Linked DNA regions of Homo sapiens: region 2 is linked to region 1. Evidence: promoter capture Hi-C in 16 types of primary human blood cells and fetal thymus (Javierre and others, 2016). All regions are on one chromosome and are shown on one strand. The core of a region is centred on a gene start or on the middle of the fragment in contact, and the rest is flanking DNA. Distances in the headings are between cores, read along the strand shown. Region 1 holds the start of ALDH1A2 (aldehyde dehydrogenase 1 family member A2). Region 2 overlaps ALDH1A2 (aldehyde dehydrogenase 1 family member A2).

Region 1 (6,357 bases), core at 260-2,759:
CAAGAAATGGGACTCCAGCGGCTCTAAAAATGGCATTTAAGATGAGAATCAGGCCGGGTGCAGTGGCTCATGCCTATAATCCTAGCACTTTGGGAGGCTGAGGTGGTAGGGTCACTTGAGCCCAGTTCAAGATCACAGTGAGCTGTCACGGTGCCACTGCATTCCAGCCTGAGTGAAGGAGTGAGACCCTGTCTCTTCAAACAAAACAAAAAGACGAGAATCACAGTGTTGCTTGGTAGTGTAGAAAAAGCGTTTATCAACACTGTAGGCCCCTGTCAAGCTTACATTTGGAGTGAGGAGTAAGGAAGGGAAGGGACTTATGCAGGTCTTTCCATGCGGCCTTGATTTAGTCCACGGAGTCCAAAGCCCATTCTGAGGCAGGGTCTCTAGGTTCTTGGTTTACACCTGCAGGCCGATCCACAGACTAGAGGGCAGCTTGTTAGACTTTGGAAACACTTAGATTAGGGGGGAGATGGAAACTCAATCCCAAAGGGACAGTAAAATGAGCCTAAGGTCTGGCGGGACGATAGCTCTTAGCGTGTAAGGAACAACAGAAAAACAAAATAGTGTTTCTGTGGGTGTGCTGGGTGAGGAGGGGAAACAGCCGGAAGAGGGGATCCGAGAAGAACTAAAGGAGCCCACGAAGCATGCAGCTCCTCGGAGGAGCCGGGGATGATCACTGCCCATATCCTCCCGCCACAGCGCAAGCCGCCCGGGCGGTCCCGGCCGGCAGAGGGCAGCAACTGGGCGGGCGACGCCTGGCAAGGGCCGCCCCGCGCTGACCCGCTCGCAGGGATCCTCATTCTGAGCCCGAGGCGAGGGGGACTCGCACCCACTGCCACCTCTCCCTGACCCTCTGGCCACCATGCACCTCGGCCCGGCTGAGGGGAGTCGGGGGGTCGGGGGAGAGGGCGTAGCTGCCGAGAGCCTGGCGCCCCTGCCCGGAGGAGGAGAACGGAGGACGCCCTCCCGGGTCTCCGGAAAGGAAGGGGGACGGGGTTCGGTGGGTCCTGGGACGGGGATGGGAGGGAACGTGGGCGAGCTGGGAGCCGCCCTCCGCAGCCTGGACTTTCCTGGCCTTTCTCTACTCCGAAGCAGCACCGGGCCGCTCCGGTCCCCGCCAGCCCCTGCCAGCTCCGCTTCCGGGGGCCACGACCCTCGCTCGACTTCGGCCGCTGTGCGCCTCCCGCCGACTCTGACCCAGGGACCCGGAGACCAAGTCCGGCTGGCCGAGGCCCGCGGGCCGCGGCGCAAGTTCCGCTCCCACCGTCGAGGACTGTGGAGGCGGCGTGGGCTGGTCTCCGCGGCCGGGGGGCGGGAGCGCCGGGCGGACTTGACCGTGGGCGCCAAGCGTCCCGGCCGCGCGGCGCGGGCTTTATGTAAATGGAGGCTGCGCCGGGCGTCCTAGGTAGGATGGACCAGCCCCCCGCGCCTCGGCCCTCACGTCCAATAAGAAGAGCCCCAGCTTGACACCTGCCTATATACAGGCGAGCGCGCCCCCGGGCCGCGGACCGCGCGCACAGCCCGCACTGCCCCACGCCGCGGGCTAGGGACACCCGGCCCGCCACCATGACTTCCAGCAAGATAGAGATGCCCGGCGAGGTGAAGGCCGACCCCGCCGCCCTCATGGCGTCGCTGCACCTCCTGCCGTCGCCCACGCCCAATCTCGAAATTAAGTACACCAAGGTAAGCGGCCGCCCAGCGCCCGTCGTCCACGGAGACTTTCTAGAACCTTCTTCGGTTTCCCCGATCTCTTCAGCGGGTGAGGGCTGCGGGACGGGGCCGGGGTCGTCGGGGCCAGCCTGTCATCCCGGCGCAGCAGAGGGACCCCCTGCCTGTCTTCGGGACTGGGGCGTTTGAAGCCCCGCCGTGGTCTGAGGACGCCTTGGGGACTTAACCCAACCCGAAGCGCAGCGTTGAGGGGCAGCCGTCAACGGCTCCTGCCCCGGACTCTGAGGCTGGTTTCTGTCCGATTCTCCCGGTCCCGACTGCCGCGGGGGAAGGCGTCGGAACCGCTTAGTATCCTCAGATGGAGGCCGGGGTTCCCCGTCAGCTTGGCCACGCAGCCTGGCCGTCGCCTCTCGGTCCTCCGCCTTCCGGGCCCCTCGGCTGTTGGTCCCAATCAGGTCCTCCACAGCCCGGAGGGTGCTGAGGGGCTTTCCCGTAAGGAATTGTCAAGACACCAGCGCTCTGGCCGGTTTGACAAATTTCACGGAAACCTGACTGATAAGTACAGTAACTCCAACGTCAGCGTTTCATGTGAATTTTGTAGGCAGCGGCAGTTTCCCTGGGAAACTTAAAAAGTTTTAATATTTGTTAGCATGTTCGGTTTTGAACTGAAGAACTTACTTTTTTTTTTTTATAACGAACGTTGACATCTTGGGTTTGCTAAGCAGGATTTTTGTTGTTGCATCGCCTAAAAAAGAATATGCGTCTGCTACCTAATATAAAATGAATTTACTTTCCACAAATTCGACATAGAAAAAAAATGATCGATTACAAACGTAGGGGTATTGTAATGTTACAACATTTTGAGGGAGGTGGTGAGAGAGAGATGGGATTGAAAACCACGTTTCTTGGAGTTCATTTTGTAGTTCTCTGGTTTGATTTTCTAGTCCTTTCGGTACATTTCTACACTCAACTTCTCCCAATTAACGCAAACGCATAGACGCACATGCATATGGTTAAAGGTTGATTAAAGATGTATTCCATCGTGCTTTTTTACAAGATAAATTTTGTAGAGAAGTAAATTGTTTGCATCTGGCTTAGTGGTTGAATGAGATATACAAGAAACAACATCAGAATATTGAGATTTTACTTGCATTGAGTTTTAGGTTACAAATCAGGGCGATTTGTGTTTTGAATGTCGATTTAGATGGATTTAATGTACCTGCTAGCTTTTTTAGATGGTGTGACAAATTTTTCAAAGCCGTTTTAATGAGAGGTCGTTAATGGTTATAACCTTTTAGGCATTGTTTGCATAACAATAGTGCCAATGTGTGGCACTTGTCTGGGTTTAGGAACGAGCAGGGAAAGCATGCAGCTTAGAAGTTTTATTTTATGAGGGTCTCTAACCTCTTCAGGCTCTTTTTAAAGGTCTTAAAATGGAAGATCTACACAGGAGAAAAGACCTAACCCTCAGATTTGGGAAGGTTTGATTTTAGTCTTATTTTTGATGGGATTTTTCTAACAGCCTCTGAAAGAAATTTTAGGTATGCAATAGGTACGTTTTTCAGAATTTAATTTGGAAGCTCTTCCAGTTCTCTTACTCCCTAACTACCCCCTCTCTCTTTTCTCTCTTGTTCTCCCCCAGTAGGAAAGACAACTGATTTATAGCTAATTGGAGCCTTTAATGTGGAGTCTTTTAGCTCGGGGAACTTTTATCCAGTATCCACTTTCCCACTTAATACAAAGAAAAACAATCAGAAATGAAATAATGGATTGTAACTTGATTCTTTAATTTGTGGGGAGGAGGTACCTTATTTTTGCCTTGACAAACAACCCTCATAAACACTGAGTAACACTAATCTAAAGGCGAGCTCTTTCCACAAAAACTTGTAAAATCAGGTATCTGTGAGCATTCCCAGCAGTTTTCCTCCTCAGCTCTTTAGTGAGACTTCTAAATTTTCTAAGACAAGCATAGTGGACAAGCAGTATTTTTTTTTTAAACGTGAAGAGCAGAAGCTGCTCTTTTGGTATCCCAGGGTAATGATTTTTTTACTTAAAGGAAAAATAAGATTAATAGTGAGTTTTTTAAAAACAAACATGACCAGAAGTGAGGGAAATTATATTAGCAATTTCAAACAGAAGAGTGAACAAGATAGAATGGACAGTCCTTTAGCATAGTGATACCATATTCGATAGGGGATTTTAAAAGGGTAATGGCTACAAAAGTATTACGCGTTAGGGCGTGTTAAATATCACATTTGAAAGAAACACAATATTTGCATCAGAAAATGATACTGTAAGACAATATGTTATTGTTTTTTGTCTTGCTAAACATACATCTTTAGTGAAGGATATGACTTTCTGTATGATTTTTCAGTGTGATATTGGGACCCACATAGAGTCACTACTTAAAATAAATGACCAGACTATGAGAATTTCAAGTAATGTGCACTTAGAAAACTTTGTACTTGTGATCTTGTATTTTTCTGTATTTTTGCTCCAACTTCCTCCTCCTCCTAGAAGTATTTCACATTTTTAATAAAGGGAATGGGGGAGATGACCAGAATTAAAAGTTACTGCCTTTGCCTGCTAGAGGTCCAGTGGAAATGCTCCAGAATTAAAGTTCATTCCCTAAGGATGTTGAAAGGGCTAAACTCATGGTTGTGTATGGACTTTTAGGCAGTTACATTCCATTTTTTAAAATACGCTTACCACTCTGAAATTCTAGTATCCATATTATACCAATGATCAATGGCAATACCATTTTTGGAACATGTCTATTTGTATTTCCCTAATACAGCAAGCTGGATCCCAAGTTTTAAAAGTGATCCCTTATGAAGGAATGTGCTTTTTAAAACTAGATGGTGTTAGTCAAGGAGGAGTGAAAACTAACATGAAGTATTGAGGGGACCAATTTGGTACCAAGAGAATGCGCTCTCCTTTGCTTGTATCCTAAGAAGACTGCATTCTGATTGCCTTGAGCGATGTGTTTATGAATTTAAAATTTTCTGAGTTGTCTATTTTATTAGTCTGACTTTTATAATTTTGTATAACTGATATTATAGGAATACACACATTACAAAGTCAAGGCTCAGCACTTTACTGACCGCCCCTGACTGCAGGGGATATCTCTTAACAGATTCCCAGGTCTTTGGAAACTTGTCCTCTGTATTCCACTTCGACCTTCTTTCTTGGCTCTATCTTCTCTTCTGGCTGTACCGGTCTCTCCTTTCCTTCCTCCCTCCCCCAGATCGTTGTGCTGTCTTTCTCTTGGTCACTTTTTCAGTGAGAGTTTATGCCCATAACTAACAGTAACAAAGAGTTATGTTTTTTTTTTCTGCATCTGATATTATATGGGGCTGAAACACAGGGAGGAAGAGGGTATTTATAACATAATGACCTGCTAAAATAGAAGAGGCAAAAAGGCAATCAACTTAAAACTCAGAGCTAATGTGCATCGTGAGTCTAGATTTGTCTTTTTATTTATTCATTTAAACTTCTGTTTTCTGGGGTCTATTTCAATTAAATTCAAAAGGCATTTGAGTGGCCATGTTCCTAACAGGGGTGCTTTTCACTGTGTTAGACTGGAAACATCTGCCTTCTGGGAGATTAGGGTCTTATTAAAAAGTTTGTGTGCCAAAAATTGGTTGTTAGTACAGCAGTAGTTCAGTTGATCAATGTAATAATAATGATGATGATAATTATAATGCCACTTACATTTTTATAGGGCCTAATGGTCTGCCTAGCACTTTCATATATATCTTGTTTGATCCTTGCAAAACCTTTTGAAGGAGAGAGAGTAGAAATAAATAGAATAATTCATAAGAAAGACATTGGCCTTGACTTTAAAGAAATTGATAGTTTTCATCACCATACACTTTTTCTAACGGTCTGTGGCACGTTGTTTTTTCATCGTTTTGTTCCGTTTTTTTTTTTTTTTTGTTTTTTTTTTTTTTGAGGGAAGGAGTTTAAATCTTTATATTTTGTGTTGCTTCTCTCGCAACCATGGAGAAAATATGAACTAGTCTACCCCTCTTAAGAAGGAGCTATCTTTTGTGACTTTTGATTCTAATACTTTAAATGGCTATTTTTGATTTTTCTATGAGATTTTTTTTTTTAATCTGGGGCAAGATTCTTGCCTGTGCCAGGAATAATTTCTTAAAAGATAGGTGTGGATCTAGATCCTTCCAAACCTTTACTTAAGATTGTCTGTTTTGGTCATAAATTGTCAGTCAAACTACATGTTAATAGAGGACTTCAGGTTTTTTTTTTAAATACTTTTTCATAACTATGCAGCTTTTTGGTGTTTGTATCATCTCCATTTAACACAGGGAAGCTGGACAATTTCATCACAGGACTTGAATTAGATAATTCTCCTGGGGTCCTGCCCTGATCCCTTCCACTACATGGGCCTATGTTACCATGTGGAATTATCATTTGCTGAGGGACTCCTCGTTCTTTATTTCTATAAAATGATGAATGATAGTTTTTGTATTTCAGAGTAGAGGATTCTCTGAGGAGACTGTTTTGTGAGGTCTGACTTCCTCATAGCCAGGCTTAAGAAAGGCAAATCATGCATAGTTAGTTCTCTGTTGCATCAATGAAGCACAATGATTTAACCATGACAAAATCAGTAAATATCCCAAGTCCCATCACCCAGAGTTATCAGTTCTGAGTCTTTCTTAGTTG
Region 2 (7,174 bases), core at 2,199-4,698, 91 kb after region 1:
GATCAAGCTACCATTGACTTTCTTCATAGAATTAGAAAAAACGACTTTAAATTTCATATGGAATCAAAAAAGACCCTGTATAGCCAAGACAGTCCTAAGCAAAAAGAACAAAGCTGGAGGCATCATGCTACCCAACTTCAAACTTTACTACAAGGTTACAGTAACAAAAACAGCATGGTACTGGTACAAACACAGATATACATAGACCAATGGAACAGAACAGAGGCCTCAGAAATAACACCATACATCTACAACCATCTGATCTTTGACAAACCTAACAAAATCCAAGCAATTGGGAAAACTGGCTAGCCATATCCAGAAAACAGTAACTGGACCCCTTACTTACACCTTATACAAAAATTAACTAAAGATGGATTAAAGACTTAAACGTAAGAACTAAAACCATAAAAATCCTAGACAAAAACCTAGGCAATACCATTCAGGACATAGGCATGGGCAAGGACTTCATGACTAGAACACCAAAGGCAATGGCCAAAATTGACAAACGGGATCTAATTAAACTAAACCGCTTGTGCACAGCAAAAGAAACTATCATCAGAGTGAACAGGCAACCTACAGAGTGGGACAAAGTTTTTGCAATCTACTCATCTGACAAAGGGCTAATATCCAGACTCTACAAGGAACTTAAACAAGTTTACAAGAAAAAAAAAAAAACATCGAAAAGTGGGCAAAGGATATGAACACACACTTCGCAAAAGAAGACGTGGCCGTTAAACATGAAAAAAAGCTCATCATTACTGGTCACTAGAGAAATGCAAATCAAAACCACAGTGAGATACCATCTCACACCAGTTAGAATGGCGATCATTAAAAAGTCAGGAAACAACAGATGCTGGAGAGGATTTGGAGAAATAGGAATGCTTTTACACTGTTGATGGGAGTATAAATTAGTTCAACCATTGTGGAAGATGGTGGCAATTCCTCAAGGATCTAGAACTAGAAATACCATTTGACCCAACAATCGCATTACTGGGTATATACCCAAAGGATTATAAGTCATTCTTCCATAAAGACACATGCACTTGTATGTTTATTGCAGCACTATTCACAATAGCAAGGACTTGGAACCAACCCAGATGCCCATCGATGATAGACTGGATAAAGAAAATGTGGCACATATACACCATGGAATACCATGCAGCCATAAAAAAGGATGAGTTCATGTCCTTTACAGGGACCTGGATGAAGCTGGAAACCATCATTCTCAGCAAACTAACACAAACAGAAAACCAAACACCATATGTTCTCATTCATAAGTGAGAGTTGAACAATGAGGATGCATGGACACAGGGAGGGGAACATCACACACCGGGGCCTGTCGGGCTAGGGGAGGGATAACATTAGGAGAAATAGCTAATGTAGATGATGGGTTGATGGGTGCAGCAAACCACCATGGCACATGTAAAAAACCTCCACTTTCTGCACATGTATCCCAGAATTCAAAGTATAATTTTAAAAAATACAGTGCTGGAAGAAGATGCCTGGTACCTATTAAGGAACTCACTCATGATTTCTTGCTGTGGCCTAGAGTGGTGGCCACTCCTTCAAACTGAGTTTGCCAGAATGGAATTCTGGTGTAGGGAGAAATTTCTTTGCAGAAAAATGTTACGTAGTTTCCTTTGTTTTTCAGTAGTTGTGCAAAGACCAACTACTGCCAGTAGTCTGCAAAGGACAACAAAGAGATATATGGCATAATTTCTGTAATGAAGTAATATTTTTGTTTAATGTACCTTTATTAACAGCTTTATTGTAGTATAATTGATATACAATAGATTTCACTTATTTAAAGTGTACAATTTGATAAGTCTTGGCCATGTGTATCCATCTACCTGTGAAACCATCAGTAGAGTTCACAATGAATATGTCCCTCACCCTCACATGTTTCCTAGTGCCCCTTTGTAATCTCTCTGTCTTATCTCTCTCTCCACCCCCACCCCCACATTCCCAGGCTTTCTGGCACTATAGATTATCTGCATTTTCTAGAATTTTATATAAATGGCAACATATAGTATATACTCTTTTGTCTAGCTGTTTTTACTCAGCACAGTTATTTTGAGATCTGTCTATGTCGTGCATATCAATTCGTTCTTTTTTATTGCCAAGTAGTAGTCCATTTATGGGTATATAGTTTAACTATTCTGAATTCAAAAAATCTGAAATCTGGAATGCCCCCAAAACTTGAAACATTTTGAGCACCAACATCATGCTCAAAGGAAAGGCTCATTGGAGCATTTTGGATTTTGGATTTCCAGATCGGGGTGCTCAACTGGTAAGTATAATGCAAATATTCCAAAATCTGAAAAAATATCCCAAATCCAAAACACTTCTGGTTCTACACATTTTGATAAGGGATGTTCAACCTGTATCAGGTTTAATAGCCATTCAGCCAATGATGAACATTTGGATTTATCCATTTGTTGTATGTTTGTTTATCCATTCAGCCACTGATGAACATTTGGATTGTTTTCAGTTTGGGACTAATAAAAGCTTCTATGAACATTCATGTACAAATATTTGTATGGACATGTATGTCCTTTTCTCTTAGGTAAATACCTAGGAATGGAATGGCTGGATTGTGTGGTAGGGCAGGAAACTGCCAAACTGTTTTCCAAATCGGTTATACCATCTTACATTCCTACCAGCAATGTTTAAGACTTTGAACTCCTTTACATCCCCACCAACATTTGATGTGGTTAGTCTTTTACATTTTAGCCATTCAAATAGGTATATAGCATTGTCTCAATGTGGTTTTAATTTCCAATTCTCTACCATTGAGTGTCTTTTCATTTGTGTATTTGCCACAGCATATCTTCTCTGGTGAAGTATCTTTAAATCTTTGCACACTTTGGAGACAAGCGTTGTTTGTTTTCCTCATTGTTGAATTATGAAAATTGTTAGTATATTCTGGATAAAAGTCCTTTGTGCTTTGCAAATAATTTCTCCCAGTGTCTCTTAAAGTTTTTAATTTTGATGTCCAGTTTATTAACATTTTCTTTTATAGATCAGGCTTTTGGTATGGTATCTAAGAAATCTTTGCCTAACATAAGATCACAAAGACTTTCTCATATGCTTTTTTTCTAGAAATTTTATAGTTTTGTGTTTTACATTTAGGCCTATGATCTACTTCAACTTTTGTGTATGTTGAGAGGTAAGGATCCAAGTGCTAGATAGATGGATAATGACAATAGTTCCTGCACCATTTCTTGAAAAGACTACCCTGCCTCCACTGAATTGCCTTTGTGATGCTTGCTTTTTTCAAGCATAAATTTTCCATATTTATATGGGTCTATTTCTTTCTTTTTTTTTTTTTTTTTTTTTGAGATGGAGTCTCGCTCTGTCACCCAGGCTGGAGTGCAGTGGCGCGATCTTGGCTCACTGCAAGCTCTGCCTCCCGGGTTTATGCCATTCTCCTGCCTCAGCCTCCCAAGTAGCTGGAACTACAGGCGCCCGCCACCTTGCCCAGCTAATGTTTTGTATTTTTAGTAGAGATGGGGTTTCACCATGTTAGCCAGGATGGTCTTGATCTCCTGACCACGTGATCCACCAGCCTTGGCCTCCCAAAGTTACAGGCATGAGCCACTGCGCCCGGCCCTATATGGGTCTATTTCTGTACTCTCTGTTCTGTTTCAGTAATCTGTGTGACTGTTGCATCGCAAGTATCACATTATTTTGACTATTATAGCTTTATAACAACAGGAATTTTTTTATCTTCACAAATAAAACATTAACAACTACCTATGCAATCTTCCAATACTGAGATATTCAATAGGGAACTGAGAGAGAGAGAGAGAAGGGAGAATTTGGGAAAGAGAATAGGGTGGAAGGTGGGTCTTTGAATTGTTTTGCTTTTAGGAATAGTTAAAATATTAAGTAGCCTATTACAGTGTGAATAGAGCAAGTTTTCAGCTAAACTTTCTAACAGAATCTACATTTGATTCTTCTCTCTCTGTAGAGAGGCTTACATTCATTTGGAGGGGAACTAATCCCGTGACTTCTAGGTTATCTCTTAGTTTCTTCTCTGGAATGACATTATTGGCAGACACTAAAGGACTTAAGGGAGAGCGGCATTTGTCTAGAATATAAAAGCCAATTTGTAATTTCCATATTAGTAGTGGTGGATGGAGAATTTTCACAGGCAAATCAAACGATCACATAATCCCCAAACCCCTTTTCAGCTGTAGTTATTTACTTCTTTATCCATTTATTCTAACTTTGCAGGCTACCTGAGAAGTTGTATAGATTCTTCCAGAGTGAACATGTCACTTAAATATGGATTAGAACATGGCTTCTGCTGTGATTACCTTAGGGAGATGGGACCTATTGGTACATTACAAAGTGTCTGGAACAGTTAACAAGAAGAAGCTTATTTGAGGTGGCTGCTTTCCATTTTACTAAAGCAAAAGGCCTTTAGAAAGCCAACAACTTTACTCAGATTAAAGATGGGATTAATTTCTCCTTATGCAGCTAAATACATAAGCAGTGCATGTAAATATTTAATAAATATAAAAGAGCTCTTATAAACACAAGTCAATAAACAACTTCAATAAAGTACAGGAAAACAATATGCATTTTGCTTGGTATAGTGTTTTCTTTACTCAGGTTAACAAACAATGATCTCATCATTAGCAGCAAGATAGTGGAGAGACCATCAAAGCAAACTACAGCAGAGTCCAGATTGATTCGTGCCAAACAAATGTTTGTAGCTAACAGCTGTATTATCACTCATTCTAATTTACGCAGCTGGGGTTCTTTTATTTCCTAAGTGAGATAAATGTCATGTTGCATGATACAAGCACCATCTCTACTGCTTGAGTCATGAATCAGGTCAGCTCTCTCCTAGTTAGCTTCACCCCTCATTTTAGGTTAGGGGAGGTGGCTTGCTACAGTTTTAGCTATAAACAGCTAATAGGCCTTTTTCTAAGGTTGTGTGAGTCCATTCGTGAATCATTCAGTATTTTATTTAAAAATACCAGTTTGAATGTCATGAAAATATTGAAAAAACCAGTTTCATGTGGAAAAACCTTTGGTTGTGTAGGTTTTAAACTATTAGCATAAAACTTCTCTTTTTAAAAAATTCTTAAAACTTGAAGACTGAAGAATAAGTATGGTATAGTCTCTGCCTGCTGGATGAGATTCCATGATTTATTCTCTAACTATGCTAAGTCAAAGATTCTGCAGTTAGCTTTCTCCCCAAAACTCAGGCTGAGTTTGAGCAGGTCCTAAGGTGTTGATCCCTTTAGCTCACCTAGTTAATGGGACATAGAGTACTTTTGGCTTGACTACTCCATGCTTTTTCCTATCAAAGCAGACCAAGACAATCAAAACCTTGATTTTTAAAGCTTACCTGAAATAGAGTCTTATGTAACAAAAGGATGGCTAAGTGTACAAGGCAGTTGAACATGTTAGTGGTAGATGATGCATTTAACTGTCAAAATGCTACTCACAGCAAAGGGGAACCAATTCCCAGGAGAAGGTCTGGAGAAGAGGAGGGAGAAGAGCCTGAGGCTTGGTGTGCACATTCTGAGACCAGTCCTGGCTCTGCCACTCAGTGGGTGCCTGTTTGCAAGTCATTTCTTGACCTCTGTGAGTCTTGTCTTGTCTTTTTTTCCAATTATAAAATAGAATAATAATTCCTGCCTCCCAGTTTTGTCATGAAGATTAAATAAAATAATGTTTGTGAAAACAAGTAGACAGAATAGGTGCTCAATCAACAATAACATTAGCTGGACACGATGGCTCACGCCCATAATTCTAGCACTTTGGGAGATCAAGACCAGAAGATCGTGTGAGCCCAGGAGTTCAAAACCAGCCTGGGCAAGATGGCAAGCCCCAGTCTTTGCAAAAAAAAATAAAAAATAAATTAGCCAGGCTTGGTAGTGTGCACCTGTAGCCCCAGTTATTCAAGGGGCTGAATGGCGGGATTGCTTGGGCCAAGGAGTTGAAGGATGCAGTGAGCCGTGATCACACCACTGCTCTCAAGCAATTTTCGTATTCTGGCTTATTGACTTAACAAATTATTGAAAGTTTGTCTGGGCCCTGGTGGCTCAGGCCTGTCATCCCAGTGCTTTCAAGGCCTAGGCAGGAGGACCCCTTGAGGCCAAGAGTTTGAGACCACCTGGTCAACATAGTGAGACCCTGTCTGTACCAATTTTTTTTTTTAATTAGCCAGGCATGATGGCAAGTGCCTGTAGTCCCAGCTACTCAGGCTGAGTTGGGAGGATTGCTTGAACTCAGAATTTCAAGGATGCAGTGAGCCATAATCATACTACTACAGTTCAACCTTGGCAAGAGAGTGAGACCCTGTCTTAAAATCTGTGTACATATGCATATTTTTTTAAAAGTCAGTCATTGTAGTCGGGGAGACAGCTATTAAACAAGCACAATGTGAGAGTTACGTACATAGCACTGTGAGATCAGAGAAGGAACACCAAACCCTGTAGGGAGGGTAGGGAAGGAAAGCTACCTTCTCAGAGGAGGTGAAAGAGTTATCTCTGTAAAAATGAGTTTATCAAGTAAGCAAGGGGTGAAAAGGCACTGCAGGTAGATGGAGCAGCTTATGCAAAGACACACAGGCATGTTCCAGAAAGGGCAAGTGGTTTTGTGTGCCTAGAGTCGTGGGTGAGTGGTGGTGGGAATGGTGGGACAGAAGGCTGGAAACATAGTGGTTATACTGGCCTTCATAATCTGAATTTCACAGATAAAGGTTTAAACTGCTGTTACCACTTAAAGGAACTGCTTAGATGCCTTGGTCCTGTTTGTTTCTGGTGCAAATCTGGACAGATTAATTTGGCCTGTTATTTCTGGGTACTTCAGAAAGACAAACACCCAATCCCCATATTTTTGGCATTTCTATTCCCAACACAGTTGGAACCAGGAAGCATAACAATGAAAATTAAGAAAGGAGAAGAGGGAAGAAGCAGAGAGTAAATCTGTTTGGGATTTATGAAAAGATATTACAAGACACAGGCATCTTTAACTAGTTTACTGGGATCTCTAGTAGAGATTTTTCCATTTTTAAAAAGGTGTTATATCGCTGAGAAAAATCTACCTTGATATGTGTAATAAAATAGCTCTGAGTAGGAACTCACCTGAGTAATTAATAAAAAAAAATTTTACCCAACTTTAGAAACTGTGTTCAGGGAGCAACTGCCCT

Evidence for each region. The method cuts DNA at HindIII sites, captures the fragments that hold promoters and counts their contacts. A CHiCAGO score of 5 or more calls a contact.
Region 2: a fragment that was not itself captured here is called in contact with the fragment with the promoter of ALDH1A2 in region 1 in 1 of 17 cell types (endothelial precursors); the score reaches 5.1 in endothelial precursors.

The regions. Positions count from the first base shown.
Region 1 is chr15:58,060,863-58,067,219 of GRCh38, reverse strand. ALDH1A2 (aldehyde dehydrogenase 1 family member A2) reads left to right here and starts at 1,509. Exons shown (of 13, transcript NM_003888.4): 1 at 1,509-1,686. The coding sequence starts at 1,570. It overlaps ALDH1A2-AS1 (ALDH1A2 antisense RNA 1), which reads right to left and starts at 1,995. Exons shown (of 3, transcript NR_147215.1): 1 at 1,478-1,995; 2 at 286-405. RefSeq lists a silencer at 654-843 and enhancers at 1,452-1,971, 1,972-2,491. The HindIII fragment of the contact is 8,256 bases long and covers 283-6,357 here.
Region 2 is chr15:57,970,598-57,977,771 of GRCh38, reverse strand. All of the region lies in intron 7 of ALDH1A2 (aldehyde dehydrogenase 1 family member A2), which reads left to right. Among named protein-coding and RNA genes, the nearest start is that of ALDH1A2-AS1, 91 kb to the left of the region's middle. The HindIII fragment of the contact is 1,875 bases long and covers 2,511-4,385 here.